Regions from separate parts of the Homo sapiens genome. Here region 1 is linked to region 2. The links are contacts of gene promoters, found by promoter capture Hi-C in blood cells and fetal thymus (Javierre and others, 2016). All regions are on one chromosome and are shown on one strand. Each heading gives the region's core, a stretch centred on a gene start or on the middle of the fragment in contact. The rest is flanking DNA. Distances are from core to core; before and after follow the strand shown. Region 1 holds the start of DGUOK-AS1 (DGUOK antisense RNA 1). Region 2 holds the start of AUP1 (AUP1 lipid droplet regulating VLDL assembly factor).

What was found. The method cuts DNA at HindIII sites, captures the fragments that hold promoters and counts their contacts. A CHiCAGO score of 5 or more calls a contact.
Region 1: the fragment with the promoter of DGUOK-AS1 here is called in contact with the fragment with the promoter of AUP1 in region 2 in 1 of 17 cell types (fetal thymus); the score reaches 7.2 in fetal thymus.

The regions. Positions count from the first base shown.
Region 1 is chr2:73,979,893-73,982,905 of GRCh38, forward strand. DGUOK-AS1 (DGUOK antisense RNA 1) reads right to left here and starts at 1,547. Exons shown (of 2, transcript NR_104030.1): 1 at 1,243-1,547. The HindIII fragment of the contact is 8,489 bases long and covers 1-3,013 here.
Region 2 is chr2:74,528,426-74,531,603 of GRCh38, forward strand. AUP1 (AUP1 lipid droplet regulating VLDL assembly factor) reads right to left here and starts at 1,281. Exons shown (of 12, transcript NM_181575.5): 1 at 1,155-1,281; 2 at 937-1,074; 3 at 707-857; 4 at 326-510; 5 at 1-64. The coding sequence starts at 1,204. It overlaps HTRA2 (HtrA serine peptidase 2), which reads left to right and starts at 1,508. Exons shown (of 8, transcript NM_013247.5): 1 at 1,508-2,087; 2 at 2,192-2,396; 3 at 2,486-2,680; 4 at 2,914-2,946; 5 at 3,172-3,178. The coding sequence starts at 1,582. RefSeq lists enhancers at 725-1,554, 727-1,609, 2,065-2,194, 2,215-2,284, 2,315-2,394 and 1 more and a silencer at 1,585-1,674. The HindIII fragment of the contact is 3,652 bases long and covers 278-3,178 here.

The sequences.
Region 1 (3,013 bases), core at 297-2,796, 550 kb before region 2:
GTGATTACGGGAAACAGAGCTCCTAATGACTCATAATGGACACGTTTTGTGATTGAGAAATACACTTTTGTTATGTAAAGCCACTGTGATTTGGGGATTGTCTATTACTCCAGCACAATCTAACTGATCCTGACTGATACACCCTGTCAACCAAGGCTCAGGGGCACCAAGGCCTTTATCCCTGTTGGGTATTCCTTCCATTATGATGGGTACCCTTGCATTCTCCTTGCAAGTAATGAAGCCTATTTGATTCAAAAAATTCAAAATGCAGTCACAAAACTAGTTATAAAACATGAGGACATTTGCGGGGCTATTGAAAAACGTAGTAGCCGGGCGCGGTGGCTCACTCATGTAATCCCAGCAGTTTGGGAGGTCGAGGTGGGTGGATCATGAGGTCAGGAGTTCAAGACCAGTCTCTACTAAAACTACAAAAATTAGCTGGGCGCGGTGGCAGGTGCCTGTAATCCCAGCTACTCGAGAGTCTGAGGCAGGAGAATCATTTGAACCTGGGCAGCAGAGGTTACAGTGAGCCCAGATCGCGCCACTGCACTTCAGCCTGGGTGACAAGAGTGAGACTCCATCTCAAAGAAAAAAAAAAAACCAAAACCCAAAACCAAAACAAAACAAAAAACCCAAAAACGCATAGCATAGATATCCTACACGTGTCACACTCACCAATGCAGGTCCACAAGCAACCCACTAATGAACCTCCCTTTCCCTGAGAGCAAAATGCCAGCTTCTGCCTGGTATCAGCTCTAGCATTCGTGGGCTAATTTCAGAGGTCCTGGATTGTAGGTCCTGGATTCTGACATGTAGTAGTGAATGACCTTGGACAAATTACCTCACTGAGCGCCAGTTCTCTTATCTGTAAAATGGTGATGATAATAAAAACTATGTCATAGATAAGGAAAGTTAACATTTGCACATTTGTTGTATTTGCCACTCTGTGCAGACAGAAGGATAATGTGTGTGGAAGTGCTTTGAAAAGGGAAAGATCTATGCAAATATTAGTTGATAATATTTTTAGCCAATACATGACCAAAGAAGTAATACATCCAAAATCAAATAAACCTCCCAATACCTTCAGTCTTTAAAACCAAGCCCAGGTATGGATATCGGGATGTATTTACATTTCTGCAAAAGGTCCCCATACGCAAATCTCATTCTTAAATAAGGACAAATTACTCATTAGCTGAAGAGGAGAGAGGTCAAGTACCTGAGGAGGTTAGTCACATCAATCACCTGAGAGTTCAGCAGCATCCAACAGTGTTAGTTCCACGTGTTAACTTCCTGAAGAACCACAGGCTTGCACATCCAATTATGCTTCCTGTCCCTTTCCTCCCCCGTGCGGAATCAACTTCAGCTCATCAATGGGGTAGGAAAGCCTCCTTATTTCGCACCCTCCATGCTCCAGGCATCCAGGGAAATGCCCCTGCCACCCCTATCTCCCTTGAGTTCTTAGGGCTTCCTCCTCTAGCAAGGAGATTTCCCTTTCTAGTCCCGGGGGCAGCGGCACAGCCCGGCTCTGACCTCGCGGGAGCAGTCGCCTAAAAGAGGCTCCGCCCTTGGCCGCTTGGGGTGGCGCCCGCCAAACCCGCTCCTAAAAGGAGCCTCTCTCCCTCTGTCTGCTCTAAGCGCCTTGGGGGCCTAATCGCAGTCTCCACCTGGGTGCTGAACTTCCTTCTCCCCCGCTTGCTGTAGTCCAGTGCTGCTCTAACTTGACTTCACCTGACGGACTAATTAAAACAGATTGCTGGGCCCGCCCCCAGGGTTTCTGATTCAGTGGGGTTAGGATGGGGCCGAGAGCTTGCATTTCTAGCCAGTTCCCAGGAGATGGTGATGCTGCTGGTGCCGGGGCTCTCTTGGCGGAACCACTGCGTCTAGGCTAATGCAGCCCCAGGAAGGGCTCGCCCTATCCCTACGCCCACCCCCGCTGCTCTCCTGCCCTGAGCGCAATGTGAATGGGAATAGCCGCAGCAGCCCAGGAGGCTGGAGAACCAGAAGGCAGGACCTGAGGAGTTTAGGCTGTTTTATCTTGGGCGCCCCTGACCAGTTTGTGCAAGTCGTAAAGAAAGCAGGAAAGAAGCCTATGGGTCTTCAGTGTTACTGGGGTCTGTCATTCATTAGGGTCTACTCACCTCGTCTCTTCATTCAACACAGTGGTTGGTTGCTAGGTCTAGGGTTATGAGGTGAAAGACAGCGTGCTACCCTTCCAGGAGTTTGTAGTAACTGGGAAAGAAACATGCAAACCATTCCAGTGCCCAGCGCCGATGAGATAACTGTTCCTAGGCAGGGAGAGTCAAACTTCTGTGGAGGGAGAGTGGGTGGGGCTCTGGAATCATCTGAGCAGCTGGAGGTTTCATGGAACTGGCACTTATGACTTGCAGGATGAGTGGGAATTTGGCAGGTACAAGGGGTAGCTGAGAAGGGGTGGGGTGGGAAGGGTTTTTCCCCAGGCAGAAGGAATGAGCAACAGGACTGCCGAAGTGTAAGGTTCCAGAGGCCGGGAAGATATGACAGGCAGCTCTCTAGCCTGGCTGGGTTCCCTCCAACCTCTCTGGCGGCGCCTTCTCAGCTCCTGTCCCTCATGGGCTGGTATTCCCTGGGGCTCTGTCCTGGCAGCCTTTCCCTCTCACACTCCATATCCACCCTGGATGAGCTCCTCCACAACTGAGGCCTCGCTGTCTGCTCACTGATGGGGCCCAAATCTCAAACCCAGGCCTCACCCCCTCAGTTGCACACTCACTTTCACACGAATGTCTCCATCCCCAGGCATCCTTCCTTCTGCATTTTGTCACAGTGAATGGCACCAGCATTCACCCAGTTACCTAAACGAGAGGGCTTTATGAAATGACCCTCTCATAGATTGCTGGCAAAGAGTAAATGACACAGTAACTTGCTGGTGCCATTTACCCAGACAGAATACAAGAGGATGGCTGCTGGGCTCCTCTGAAAGTCCACAACTTACTAGCTGAGTGATCCTGGGCAAGTTATTTAATCTGTTTTCTTATCC
Region 2 (3,178 bases), core at 31-2,530:
CAGGGGTCTCTGAACTTGCAGGGTAAGAGGTTGTACCACATCTTGGATAGAAAATGGCCAGGAACTAGAAGAGGAAGGAGAAAGTAGGATGGGAATCCAGCCAGCCTAGTCAGCAGCTCACACCTGCCTTATAACAGGCAACTGTCAAACTCTACAAGCACATAATTGAAGAATGAAGGGATTCAGGAGAAAGAACTTAAAGTGGACAGAAAGGAAATGAACTGGAGATGATGGGGTCTAAGGGCCGAAGAAAGTTGTAAAAACTCAAGGGCCCACAAGCTTGACCACCTACCCAGCTGGCGCCCCATACCTGTGCTAAACCCACCTGAAGCGCAGGAGCCCCTCCCGGCCATTGGTGGCCTCTTCCTCAGGGAATAGCAGCAGAGGAGTGGGGGGAAGCCTCGTGGAAGCACAGAATCTCTTGAGTGACTCCACCAACTCCCCCCGCCCATTCATCTCCATGAAGCCCCGAGACCAGCACACAAAGCTGGGGGGACTATTGAGTAGAGGCTGGGAACCAGGAGAAGAGAAAGCAAGAAGAAAAATATTGAGGAAAATGAAAAAAAAAACTGACATGTTGGGTAGAGGATCGGGGTTAGGGGTAAGGCTCAGTATCCTCCATGGGGAACGCGAGTGGGGACAGGGGGGCCTTCAGCTGGGCCCCAGGGAACCGCCCCGTGGCGCTCTCGGCCTCGCTCTCACTCACGGTGCTACAGGTGGTAAGCAAATTGACTATGTTGTGGTCGAAAGGTGTCACATGGTTGGAAATGAGGACCCTGACACTGTGATCCCGGAGTCCGGAGTCCTCCTGCCGGGCCACGAGCCCTAGCACCGCACACATGGTCCGCACTACGAATCTGGGGACACAGGAGGTGGTGACTGTGTGGCCTCGGGCCAGACCCAGCTCTGACACTCCCCGAACGCCCGCGTCGGAACCTGCGAAGGACGCTGTCTGGCAGCGCGCAGCTGACCAGGAAGACGTGGATCCCGAGAAAGAGGCGCAGGACGAGGAGGCAGAACCCGACTGGCGCGTAGAGCAGCAGCACGAGCAGTAGGAAGCAGTCACCCGGAAGCCTGGGGGCGAGAGGCGAAGTGGTCAGGCGCCGAAGGCCGAGAGCACGCGGGGATCGGTCTCTTCCCGCCGGGTCTCTTACCGGTGCGAGTCAAAGAGCCGCTCCGGCCCCGGCCCTGAGGGAAGCTCCATAACTGCTGCTTCAGGAGCGCCCGGCCGTCGCCGCCGCCGCCATTTTCGCGCCCGGCCGCAGGGGCTCTTGGGAAGGCGGAGTCTTTGGGCATCCGCCCGGGGTGAGGGGACCCGAAGTCCTGAGGCGCGCCGGAAGGGCTAGCGGTCCCAGCATACCCCGCGGCCCCTTGGGCCGTCTCACAACTCGCGTCCGGCGGAGACCACAATTCCCGGCATTCGTGGGGCAGGGAGGAGTCGGCCTCCCGGAATCCTGGTCCCGGCGTGCACTTCTGAAGGACTTCAGGTACCGGCGTGCCCCGCGTCCTACTGTCCGCCTGCTCGCGTCCTGGGTGCCGCCTCTGAGTAGGGCGGGCGAGGAGGCAGCCAAGGCGGAGCTGATGGCTGCGCCGAGGGCGGGGCGGGGTGCAGGCTGGAGCCTTCGGGCATGGCGGGCTTTGGGGGGCATTCGCTGGGGGAGGAGACCCCGTTTGACCCCTGACCTCCGGGCCCTGCTGACGTCAGGAACTTCTGACCCCCGGGCCCGAGTGACTTATGGGACCCCCAGTCTCTGGGCCCGGTTGTCTGTTGGGGTCACTGAACCCCGAGCATGCCTGACGTCTGGGACCCCGGGTCCCCGGGCACAACTGACTGCGGTGACCCCAGATACCAGGACCCGGGAGGCCTCAGAGAACTCTGGAACCCGTTCGCGCGCGTGGCTGGCGGTGGCGCTGGGCGCTGGGGGGGCAGTGCTGTTGTTGTTGTGGGGCGGGGGTCGGGGTCCTCCGGCCGTCCTCGCCGCCGTCCCTAGCCCGCCGCCCGCTTCTCCCCGGAGTCAGTACAACTTCATCGCAGATGTGGTGGAGAAGACAGCACCTGCCGTGGTCTATATCGAGATCCTGGACCGGTAATGGTGGGGGTAGACCGGGAGGCACTGAAGCCACAGGCTGGAGGGCGGGCGGGTAGGAGGGGTCAGAGCCTCCTCTTATCTGTGCTTTCCCTCCATTTCAGGCACCCTTTCTTGGGCCGCGAGGTCCCTATCTCGAACGGCTCAGGATTCGTGGTGGCTGCCGATGGGCTCATTGTCACCAACGCCCATGTGGTGGCTGATCGGCGCAGAGTCCGTGTGAGACTGCTAAGCGGCGACACGTATGAGGCCGTGGTCACAGCTGTGGATCCCGTGGCAGACATCGCAACGCTGAGGATTCAGACTAAGGTGGGGGCTGGGGTAGGCCAGGTCTGGTTGGAGCTGCTTATTTGCTCGCATCTTCAGATGACAGGTCTCTTTTACCCATTCTCCCTTAGGAGCCTCTCCCCACGCTGCCTCTGGGACGCTCAGCTGATGTCCGGCAAGGGGAGTTTGTTGTTGCCATGGGAAGTCCCTTTGCACTGCAGAACACGATCACATCCGGCATTGTTAGCTCTGCTCAGCGTCCAGCCAGAGACCTGGGACTCCCCCAAACCAATGTGGAATACATTCAAACTGATGCAGCTATTGATGTGCGTCCTGATAGGAGAGAAATGACAAATGATGGGGGAGGGGGGAGAGGCTGTGTGGTACAAGCACCAACTGATATATGGTGGATGAGCCTATATAGAGCTTAGGCTGCAAAAATGTGGCCACTTATTCATGGGCTGAGAAAGAAGAGAATTTGGAGAAAGTACCTACATCCTGGTATGCCCCCAGACTTAGAATCCCCAGATCTCTTTCATGTTTTCTCCTTGTCCTACAGTTTGGAAACTCTGGAGGTCCCCTGGTTAACCTGGTGAGTGAGACATCCTTCCTTCCAAGAATCCCTGCCCCAGGTCAGTGTGGGAAGGGTAGGTTTCCCCTAATTCAAGGATGTTTGGTCAAGTTTCTGAGCAGTTCTTTGTTGGCTATCTCTCAATATCCAACCAGATCTCCCCAACACTTGCTGGTACTTTTGTTCGGGTGCCCCCATCCCCTACTATTTGTTTAGGCTAGGGAACTGGGGGCTGTATCCCTGCAGGATGGGG